2 separate regions of the Homo sapiens genome follow, and region 2 is linked to region 1. The links are contacts of gene promoters, found by promoter capture Hi-C in blood cells and fetal thymus (Javierre and others, 2016). All regions are on one chromosome and are shown on one strand. Each heading gives the region's core, a stretch centred on a gene start or on the middle of the fragment in contact. The rest is flanking DNA. Distances are from core to core; before and after follow the strand shown.

Evidence for each region. Contacts are between HindIII fragments. The CHiCAGO score rates a contact against its expected background, and 5 or more counts as called.
Region 2: a contact is called between a fragment that was not itself captured here and the fragment with the promoter of WBP4 in region 1, in 1 of 17 cell types (total B cells). The highest score is 5.2, in total B cells.

The regions. Positions count from the first base shown.
Region 1 is chr13:41,057,306-41,064,112 of GRCh38, forward strand. WBP4 (WW domain binding protein 4) reads left to right here and starts at 4,204. Exons shown (of 10, transcript NM_007187.5): 1 at 4,204-4,370; 2 at 5,339-5,411. The coding sequence starts at 4,369. TRE-TTC1-2 (tRNA-Glu (anticodon TTC) 1-2) reads right to left here and starts at 3,504; the gene lies at 3,433-3,504. It also overlaps a transcript of ELF1 not described here. RefSeq lists a silencer at 2,819-2,998. The HindIII fragment of the contact is 8,920 bases long and covers 1-6,807 here.
Region 2 is chr13:39,682,416-39,687,034 of GRCh38, forward strand. The region is part of intron 8 of COG6 (component of oligomeric golgi complex 6); the gene reads left to right. Among named protein-coding and RNA genes, the nearest start is that of MIR4305, 21 kb to the left of the region's middle. The HindIII fragment of the contact is 214 bases long and covers 1,516-1,729 here.

The sequences.
Region 1 (6,807 bases), core at 2,954-5,453:
GGCATCACACCTGGCTAATTTTTTTTTAATTTTATTTTTGTAGAGACAGGCTCTTGTTATGTTGTCCAGGCTCTCTCACTTTTTCTCTTTTTTTTCCCCCCACCCCGAGATGGAGTCTCTCTCTGTCTCCAAGGCTGGAGTGCAGTGGCACGATCCTGAGATCCTGGCTTACTGCAATCTCTGCCTCCAGGGCTCAAGTGATCCTCCCACCTTGGCCTCCTGAATAGCTGATACAGGTGCAGCGGGTGCCACCACGCCTGGCTAATTTTTTGTATTTTTGGTAGAGATGGGATTTCGCCATGTTGATCCACCTGCCTCAGCCTCCCAAAGTGCTAGGATTACAAGCATAAGCCACCACACCCTGCCTCTTTCATGTATCTTCTAATTACACCTAACAGTAGCAAATATTAAAGAGGTTATTTGGGTAAATCCACAGCACTCAGTGTCACTAATTTATGGCCCAAGAGACAGCACCTAAAATATGCCTGCCAATGGCACAAGCGTTAAGAATGAATCCTCACAAACTGATTACCTAGCCTTAATCAATTTAAGATATACGTCTTACTGACAGTAGTGAGCAGCTCTGTCTTCGAATACCAAGGTCACTTTCAACAAAGCAAGACAGATTATTCTCACACTTTAAGCCTAGATTTCATTCCTATAAAGTGAATTCTAATTAACTGATTGCTTTTCTCCATTCTATTAATTACAAATTAATATTCAACTCCTAAACATAAAATGTACGGACACAAAATATTCTACATGTTTCTTTATTGTTTGAATCTTTTAAAACAAGAATTTTTCACATGCCACTGCTACCTTTGGGTTTTCCAAGAGACAGAAATGGTTTAAAAATTTTTGTGACATAAAATGTCACTCCTTGATAAAAGAACCTGTTACCTAGTCAAAATTTATCAAGTTAAAATTCCTTTCTACATTCCCAGCTTGATCTCCCATGGCCCTCCCTGCAGGCACTCTGTGCTCCTGCCAAACCGACTACTTGCCAGCCTCATACTTGTTCCCCCTACCTCAGCTTTATGATTCACATTCCCCAACAGGAGAAATCCAATCAGTTCTTCAAGGTCCACTCTCCCCTCTAGGTCTCTTCTCCAGTCCTCTCCCTTGAGCAGAACCGATTCCTCACCTCTGTTACTCCAGTAGCACTTCTACAACTCAGATGTTGCCTTACCATATTCTACGTAATGCACAACTACACGAAAGATAAATCTGTGTTTTATACAGAGATGATGCAACTACTTCCTTTGTGTTCACCCCCAGGTATATAGTACAACTATTTGCAATTACTGAGTGCACAGTTGAAAATAACATCCATTTTAGCACCATTTGGTACAATGTTGTAAACTCATTACAAAATACAAGGTCAAGGCCTGGCGTGGTGGCTCATGCCTGTAATCCTAGCACTTTGGGAGGCCGAGGTGGGTGGATCACCTGAGGTCAGGGGTTCGAGACCAGCCTGGCCAACATGGTGAAACATTGTCTTTACTCAAAATACAAAAATTGGCCACGCGTGGTGGCGGGTGTCTGTAGTCCCAGCTACTTGGGAGGCTGAGGCACGAGAATAGCTTGAATCCGGGAGGCGGAGGTTGCAGTGAGCTGAGATCGCGCCAATGCCCTCCAGCCTGGGTTAACAGAGCGAGACTCCGTCTCAACAAAAAAAAGAAGAAAAAGTCAAAAGTTAAGCCCTCTCTGGGGACAATTAAGGCAGAGTTATCCGAGTTATCTTTCCTTCTTTCCAAATTTTCAACTACTGTAATTCTTTAGTAACTGCTTCTTAATAATGACACACTATTACTTATTTAAATGAAAATTCCACTTTCATTATCTATTCAGGAATCGCTCAACAATTCTTGTAACTCTATTTAAAATTTGTGAGTGATACGTGTTATCAAAAATGTATGGCTCTAAAGCCAGAGAACAGAGAAGGTGAAAAGTCTCATCACACAGCTAATCACAAAGACCAAAATATTATTCCATTCAGTATTCTATCCACTAGCTAACATAAAGAATACAAACATCAGTAACTTCAAAAGCATGTGGTGGTGCTTGGTGTGTAGCAAACACACAAATATTTGAATTAATGAAGACGATTTAAAATACTTAGGCTTTTTCTTTCTTTTTAACAAGGTAAGCCTAATTAATCCTTAATCACGCAGATCACATTAACAAATTTACTGTGCAGTTAAAGCTACAAAATAGTCTGGGAACACACATACTAACAACCAAAACATCTGCTTTCAGTAATGGCACTGACCAGAAACCCATCTACAAGAGTCACTTTTTCCTTCTTCGTTTGTTCCCAGAGGCCCAATAAACATTATAGCCGACCCTATTTTCTAATTTCAGCTTGCATTTAAGATAACGCTTTTGTTTCATTTACAGCTCACATGCTGCTGACACAGCTGTCCCTTCTTTGTAATAAACACAGGGCTTCTATATTTAAAAATACAGTGAAACTTTGTTTTAACGTCCCCTCCCCAGTCTCCAGCCAATTTTCTCTTTCCCAAGCCCCACCTCCACCCCAGGATGTTTTGCCGTTGTTTTAATCAATTTTTTTCTTTAAATCAACCGCGCTCAAAATGTTAGACCCTTTGGAAAGTCGATATACTTATTTAAAGCCATCTCATCAGAGTGGTATTTTTCTCCTCCATAGCTCGTGGTGTGTATTTTTAAAGGGAAAGAAAAAAGATTCTCGTTCCCAAAGGCCTTTTTTCGAGGGTACTTTCCGTGACTGCGACCAGCGCCCCTTAAGTCAAGTTGGGAAGACCTCGCAGGCCGGCCTCGCGCTTGCTCAGGCGCCGCGGGTGGAGACGCGAGCGCACACGCGGCGGAAAGGGGCGCCGGGCGGCTGCGCGGCCGGGAAAGCGCGTCCCCCCGGGAGGGCGCGGAAGGCACACTGTGTTCCGTGGGGCCTCGTAAATACCCTGCGGCCAGAGAACCACTAGAGCTACTGGTCCGGGCGCGGGCTCTGGGGCGCCCAGGGCAGGGGGGTCAGCCCGTCCTGCATAGGAAGAGTCGCAAGAGCGGCTGAAGAGGGTGTGGGCCGGACGGGGGCGCTGGGAGGAGATAACGCAAGGCCGGAGTTAATCATCACCTCCCGGGCGTCTGGAAAACTACGGGCCGGAGGGGCGGGGGAGCAGCCCAGGGGAAAGTGAAACTCCCTCAGGGCCCACCAGCCCCGTGAGCCGGAGGCGGGAGGGAGAAGGATCGGAAGCGCATTCGCTTCTCCAGCAGGCACGGCGTGGCACTCGAGGCTCCAAAAGCCGCAGCCCAGCTCCTGGCGCCACTAACTACAGTAATGCTTATTTTCTACAAACTCACCCAGACGGGGACAAGAAAGGAGCCAGAACACAAGATTTAAAAAGTCAGCCCTCCAAACCGATAGTTGCAAAAAAAAAGAAAAATAAGGAAGCGTTCCCATACCGGGAGTCGAACCCGGGCCACCTGGGTGAAAACCAGGAATCCTAACCGCTAGACCATATGGGAAGTGCTATGAGAAACTGCCGTGACCCACCTGACAAGCATAAGTGCCTCTGCCTCCTTCGCCGCACCTCTCGCCACCGCCGCCTCTGCGCTACTGAAGCTGCTGCTGCCGCCGCCGCCGCCGCCGCCGCCGCCGCCGCTGCTGCTGCCCACACGCTCCCGAGCTAGGGAACAAGCCCCATCCGAGCGCGTGGGCGTCGTAGGGGAGAGGAGGGGCGGGGCCGCTCCGCTGCAACAGCAAAGTTTGAGGCGAAGCCTAGCGACTCGCAGCGCCGGTCCCGCAGTTTCACCTCTTTTTTTTTTAACTCCGCCAGAGGACCCCGACCCACAGGTCCCGGTTGCTCCGCTGGTCAAAGTGCGTGCGGAGTAGTTGGCAAAGTTGAGAGCGGAGACGTCTCTGGGAACAGCTGTTTGCGTTCCGGGCGGAGGCGGCGCGCTGAGCTCCTTGGCCTTGAGCCAGCGAGCCTAGAAGGAGGATGGAGGTTTTGGGCCCCAGGGGAGGACACAGAGACGGCGGGATGGCGCAGGGACTTGAGGCTTGAGATCCCGTCCTTCAGCTCAGGTCCCGTCGCGCTTTTACCCCTTCCCGGTGACCTCAACCCCTTTATACCGACCCCACCTCTTTGGAGCCGGGAGTACCGCCCCTGTAGGGGGAGGGGAGAGGAGGCGATTTCGAACGCGGATTGGATCGTCTGGGCACCCGTAGTTGGGAACAGCGGAACGCTGGTCCCGGGGACTGAGTAAGGTGTCTGGATCGGAGGGAGGTTCGGGTGGGCATCGGGCGGCTGGAAGAGCTCGACTCGTCCCGCTGGGAAAGCGCGAGTCTGAGTGGAACCCTGGACGACTTGCAGAGCGGCTGGCGCAGTCATGTGAGTTGGGTCTCAGGCCCTGAACAACGAGGTGTTGTTTCTCTGGGCCGCCCTTTCTCGCCCGGGTCTTCCCCTCCTCTCCTCCCGCCCTTCGGCCGGGGGCGTGACAGACGCGTTCTTAACTCGCTCGGGACCGGCCCCAGACCTGCAGGGCCGGTTCTCAGGGCGGGGTAGAAATGTTACCCCGCTGAACGCCCTGGGGTATGGGGCACGGGCTCTAGGGGGAGGCCGGCGGCCGGTTCAGGGGGCTGGTTGGACGGCCGCGGGTGAAGCGACGCAGTGCTCTCTCTACGACGCTGTCGGGGGTCGCATGCACCCCTTGGGTTTCCGAAGCCCCTGAACCCTAGGGTATTGTGAAACTAGGGCTGGGCTGCGGCCTCCCCCGCCCACTGGAAGCGGCCAGCCCTGGATAGCGTAATGGTTTTTTTTTTTTTTTTTTTTTTTTTTTTGTCGGCCGTCTACGAAGTCCCATGGCTTTTCCAGTTCTCTCTTGCCTTGAGGCTCAAGAACAGTTTGTTTTAACTGAGAGTCTGGGAGGAACTACAGTTTTCCCCAGAGTAGTCTTGTACGTTGTTCTCTTGGTGGGAATAACTTGATTTAAGGCAAACTTTATGAGTTTCTTCAGGTTTCCATTACAGCAACCTCCCCCAAAGCCAGAAAGGATAAATGTTCTTCTAAGATGTTCCTTAGTTTTTCATAACGATGACGATAACAAGTGAGGAATTTTTGAAAGCCATTTTATTGAAGGGAGTTTTGTAATGAATCAGATACAGACTTTTTCTACTCCGCTGGCAACAGAATTTCAATTGACTGTGCTCCAACCAGATAAATAATAAAACGACTATACATAACAAGACAAGATTCAGTAGCAGGGGCATATATTTCAAACTTTAAAAACTGTAAAGCATGCAGAATTTAACCTTTTTTAAGTTTTACATGAGCTTAGCCTTGTTGTCTCTCTTTTTCAGGGCGGACTACTGGAAGTCACAGCCAAAGAAATTCTGTGATTACTGCAAGTGCTGGATAGCAGACAATAGGCCTGTATGATAATTCCGCTGTTAGAGATTCTAATAATAATTGTGTTGAATGAAGTGCTCCTTTTTGATGTAAACTCAGTTTACAAAGCACTTTTATGTACATTGCTCTTGCATTTTCAAAACATCAGAAGATTTCTGTCTTCTCAGTCCCCTATGAAAGCTGTGAGCCTTCTTCCTTTTCATCAACCTGACTTTGATTATATATTAAATTATTTCTCTGTGGCCTTTTGGGAAATGGGCAATGAGTTGGTCATATCATTCATGTTATGAAGCACCTATATTATAATGGTGGTGTTCATAATACTGTCATACCCAAAGAATTGTGGAAAGCCCTTAAAAAATAAAAGCAACATGTTTAGTTTTTCTTGTATATTTTGTGGTCTAGAAATAATCAAGTGTATTTAATGCAGAGCTGTGTATCTTTAGATGCTTAAATTTGAAAGAACACCATTATTTCCTTTCTCATGAAACAAAGTAACAACTCTGTTAGGTATGTTGTTAGTCTGTCTCATAGTTGAGATCCAGTTTTGAAGATGTAAAGCAAAAAGCACACCGCTGATTTTTCTCCCCTCTTGCATGTCAAAATACTATGTACATACCACATAAACACTAGGGTATCTGTTAAATATATTTTATGTTGATACCGTTTTTACTTGGCAAAGTTGGATGCACAAAGAATAGTAGTCTCATATTTTAACAATGCTGTGGATTTCTTCTGTAGACATTTATTTCCTGTTACCTGCAAGGTGTTTAGGATTTGGATTTTTTTTTGATGTTTTGGTCTTTTTGGATAGTTGCTAAAGTTCTTCACTATTTTACCTAGGCTATCCTTATAAATAAATACCATGAATTTTTAAAACCACACAGGTCACTTAAAGTCTCTCTTTCTTGGAGGTACCTAGGCTGTAAAATGAATTTTGTGAGTTATCTAGAGTAAGTAATCCCTTCCAGTGTAGTCTGTCTTTATCTTCTTGAGTTGGTAATACACATTGATTTAACCTTTAATTAGAAACAAAATTAATTTAATTTTGAATGGTCCTTTAATATTGTATTCTTTGTGTAGTGTAATCAACTTTAGGAAACGCAATGTATGAAAAACAGGAGGATTATCTGCTTTACAAAGTCACACTTTAAAGATGAATTCATGGTAGTATTTTAAAATAGCTCAGTTAATGCATCATGTAAGATTTGATTGACAGAACTTATTTTGCAGAGCTTGTGAGGAATTTCTTACTGCATTTAACTAGAAACTTGTAATTTAGGGAGCATTTCTGATTGTTTAAATAGATAATTGCGCTCACTCACCAGCCCCTGTCCCCAGTCATCTAGTGGCCATCACTCCCCATAGGTTATCATTTTTTTTTTTCATTTTCTTGCCTATCCTTCCATTGTTTCTACAT
Region 2 (4,619 bases), core at 373-2,872, 1.4 Mb before region 1:
CATGGGGTATCAGCTTATTTGAATTTTACATACTATAGAATACAATATGGAAAGAGAAACCAAAGTGTCTCTGTATCTAGACTACCTCTTACTTATATAGAGGTTCAGTGACTTTTCCCCTGTCGTCTCATTAACTCCCTTAGAATTGTAAGTAACTAAAACTCCTGTATGAATACTTCCCTACAGAGACTGAAGTCATATCAGTACTGAGAAATATGGTTATGCAGAGATGAAAAAAGAATATTTAATATCAAGGTAATCTGTTAATAGGATTTAGGAGGAGAGGGCCCAGGTCTTTGATCCTGTAATTGATGCCAAACAAGAGCTATGTGGTAATGTTTTGGATAAGAATTTAATGCATTTTGTATTTGTTGATATGTTTTTTATTATTTTATATTTTAATTTTATTCTTTTAATTTTTATAAAATAAAAGGTAAATACTTTCTTTAATGCCTGGAGTAGTATTAGCATAAGCTTTAGGTAGATGTAGGGGTTGATGATATTAATAATTCTGAAAACAGGAAACGAGGGGACTCTTACCAAGGTAGTGCATCCTGCTTTGAATCATCCCTTTCAGAATCTGTTTATACTATTTTTAGAGGACCTCCCCATTACTTTCTGATTGGAACACTACTTATCCTATCATCAGGTCACAGAACACAAATGCTGAACAGCTGTGTAAAATAATAACACCCCAGTGTTACTTACTGAGTACTATGTGTTAAGCACCATTTTAAATTCTAGAAACACAACGTCAGTAAAGCACTGCCCTCAAACTGCTTTATTTTATGGAACCAGAGATAAACAAACGCATTTTAATTGAATACACTAATTGATAGTCTAGAAGTCATGTGCCAGATGCTGTGTGGCTCAAGTATTCTGGTGTAGGGGAAAGAGATGAGCATCAGTGAAAGTTTCCTAAGGAATTAGGTATAAAGTGAGTTCTGAAGGCTGAATAGGCATTTTCCTAGAAGTAAAGGAAGAACAGTTTGCAGGTTGAGGGAACAGTAATGCAAAGATATACATTGAGAGATAATGCACCTTTGGGAAATTAATTGTAAAAGCTTGCACTGGCTATTGAATTAGGAGCAACAGCTGGATCATAATAGCCCTGAATGTTGTGCATATACATAAGATAAGTTAATGTTTACCATTGATCAGCAGCTTAACAGTTTATTCCTGCTTTAAAATTTCTTTCCCAACTTTTTCACTTTAACATATTGACATTAATTATGAGTCTTTTAGCACTTAAAACATTTGGCGTTTGATTTTAACAGCTGTTGCATTGTCTACAGATTAATATTTATTCACAAGGTTAATCTTTTATGTATTAAAAAAAAAAAGCCTTTCTGTGTTTTGGGCACCTTTGTTTGTTTTCAACAGCTGACTTCTGCCATGCAAATAAATTTTCACTGAGTTATAGTTCTTTATCAAAACTTGGAAAGGAGCAATATTAAATGGCTATAAGGTGGGTTCTTGAGTCAAATTTCTTTGAGAAGTCCGTGTACCTTTATAAGCTTGTTTCCTTAGCTGTAAAATGAGGATAATAATAGTGCCTATTTTACAGGGTTGATGTGAAGATTAAGTTAGATTGTTCACTTAAGGCACTTAGTGTAATGCTTGGTACATCACTAAATTTTAGATATTATTTTTATTTTGAGAGGAGATGACTAGAAAGTTTTCAACTAAGGAGGGATGTATCTGAGGGCTACATGGCAATCTGGGAAAAAGCTTGAAAGATAAAGAATGGAACTATAATAGGCAAAGAAGGTTTATCTGTGAAGGGCATATGCTAAGAAGCAGGGGGCAGTAATGGCAATTTGGAAGATTTTTTTTTTTTTTTTTTTTTTTTTGAGACGGAGTCTAGCTGTCGCCCAGGCTGGAGTGCAGTGACGCAATCTCGGCTCACTGCAGGCTCCGCCCCCTGGGGTTCACGCCATTCTCCTGCCTCAGCCTCCCGAGTAGCTGGGACTACAGGCGCCCGCCACCTCGCCCGGCTAATTTTTTGTATTTTTTAGTAGAGACGGGGTTTCACCGTGTTAGCCAGGATGGTCTCGATCTCCTGACCTCGTGATCCACCCGCCTCGGCCTCCCAAAGTGCTGGGATTACAGGCGTGAGCCACCGCGCCTGGCCAATTTGGAAGATTTTAAGACACATTTAGAAGTTGAGTAGGAAAGTAAGTTTTTAAGACCAGATGATTAGAACAAGATGAATGCTAAAAAAGAGAAAATTGGCCTTTCATTAAGTAATTATTTTCAAAGTGGTAGTTTCCTTACATTTAGGGAAAACTTAATAATGTATCATGTTAACCACCAGATGGCACTATATGAACTTAATAAGTAATGTATAAAAGTTTCACTGTCCATTATTGTGTCTCAAATAATGTAAGTATTATATACAAGAAAAATGTCAATTATTGAAATCCGTGGGGAAAGTTGCCATACTCAGTGTTTCTTATGTGGTGTATAACTGGAATGCTAATGCATTATTGACTTTTAATAATAAATCATGTACAATTATAAATGAAGTGAAAAAATTTGATAATTTATTTTCTTTGGTAAGCCTTTAGAATATAAGTTATTTTAAAATGTAGTAATACATACAATGCTGATTTTTCTTCCTTCTTTATGTATTTGTTGTGTTTCAAAGAGGCACTTCTTTACTATTATCTTTTAATTTGCTTTTTGATAAAAATTTTTCTTCTTTTAATTTGCTTTTTGACCAGAATTTCTTTAACTGTAGCTAAACACAATTTTTAAAATGAGACTTTTAATTTTAACTTGAGGTATTTGAGAATATTTACATAATTTGAACATTCACTCTGAAAAAGCTCCATTTTGATTTTTGATTATTGTTGGAAGAATGTCTGATTTTGGTCAAAGACTTTTTCTTCTGTCTCTGGGAAGGATGTTTCATGTCTAAAGATATTGAAGGTTCACGTGGCTTATGCTGTTTTTGCTTTAAATTATATTTGTTCTATAGGAGGATTGACATTAATATTAATGTTTATTGATATTTTATAGTATTGAACAGATGAAATTCCAGTGTTTGCCAGGCTTGGTAATTTACCCCCTATTTAAAATACACTGGATTTTAAGATTCACTGGATTCTGTTACAGCTGTCGTCCCAGTGGACAGTCCTAGAAACAAATTATGCTGTTTATTTTTAATATAGTTAGTAGGGTCTTGGGAATGAGGATTAGCTATATATACTTAAAAAGTTAAACGTTTGTGAATTTTATGCTGTGATAAGCAGTCATAAGTTCATTATTTCAGAGAATCAGGTGATCATTTAAAAGAAGGCATTCTTCACACTAAATGGATTAATAATTTAAGAGCATGAGGGAAAAAATAGCAATGAGCATTTTGGTTCTAATTTGTTTAAAAAATAGTAAATGCAAGGCAATTATGCAATTTAGCAAAACTTAGCTGGATATTGCACTTCCCCTTTTCTGTAGTATGTCACCACAGGGAATCTCAAAACCATTTCTTTTTAATGGAAGACAAACCCACAAAGAACCATAGTCTGGTTAATAGTAAACAGTCCTCAAAAAAGGTTCATATTCCTAAATATTTATAGCTATTTGCCAGTTCTACAGACTTTCTCTTTGATTTGGAAATAAACCGTCTTTCACATGTTTACCAAAATGTGGATTTTTCATCCAATTAACAGCATATGAAAGAAAGCTATGTAGCCTAAGATATTAATTATTTTGGGTATCTTGGGAAGTTTTGGTAATTTTTGTTTATATATAGGTTATTGACATAATTCTTAAAATTTAGTATGGTAGAATACTGTTTAGAGATTTAAAAGTTAGTCTAGAATCTGCTGACATCAAGACTGCTAAAATATATTTTGTTTTTCTTTATACTTTTAAAATGGAAAGAACTTTCAATTGAGGGATGGATGTCAGGAATGGTGGTGATAATGGAAAACAAGGCTGAGTCAAGTCAAAGAAATGGGCACTCCAGAGAGCTCCAGGCCATTTTTATAAATTGAATCCCAAATTGTCCTATTCCCCAGTTAAAAGCTTTCCTTCCCTACCAGTTCCTTCACCTTAGAAAGCCTTTCCATGCCTTTTCAATTATAATAGGTGACTTCTTAATACATGTTTTTTAAAAAGGTATTTGCTTGTATATGTGTTTGGTCAGTAAATTTAAGGAACATCTGTTATGTCTAATATTGGAGTCAAAATAAGCTTTTAAAGATGGATAGCAATTTTTGGAGCAAATTTTGGTGATAGATTGTGATAGTATGTGTAAAGAAGACTTTTTTAATGTAGAAGAGAAAAATGTCAATTTTGGGATTGCAGAATTCTTTTATTTTTTCTGAGACAGGGTCTTGCTCTGTGGCTCAGGCTGGAGTATAGTGGAGCAGTCACTGCTAACTGCAGCCTGAACCTCACGGGCTCAAGTGATCCCCCTACCTCAGCCTTCCGAGTAGCTGGGACTATAGGCATGCACCACCATGCCTGGCTATTTTTTTTTTTTAATAATGAGAAAGGGTTTCATTATTTTGCCCAGGCTGGTCTCAAACTCCTGGGCTCCAGTGACCACCTTCCTCGGCCTCCTAAAGTGCTAGGATTGCAGGTGTGAACCACCGCACCCAGCCTTGGAT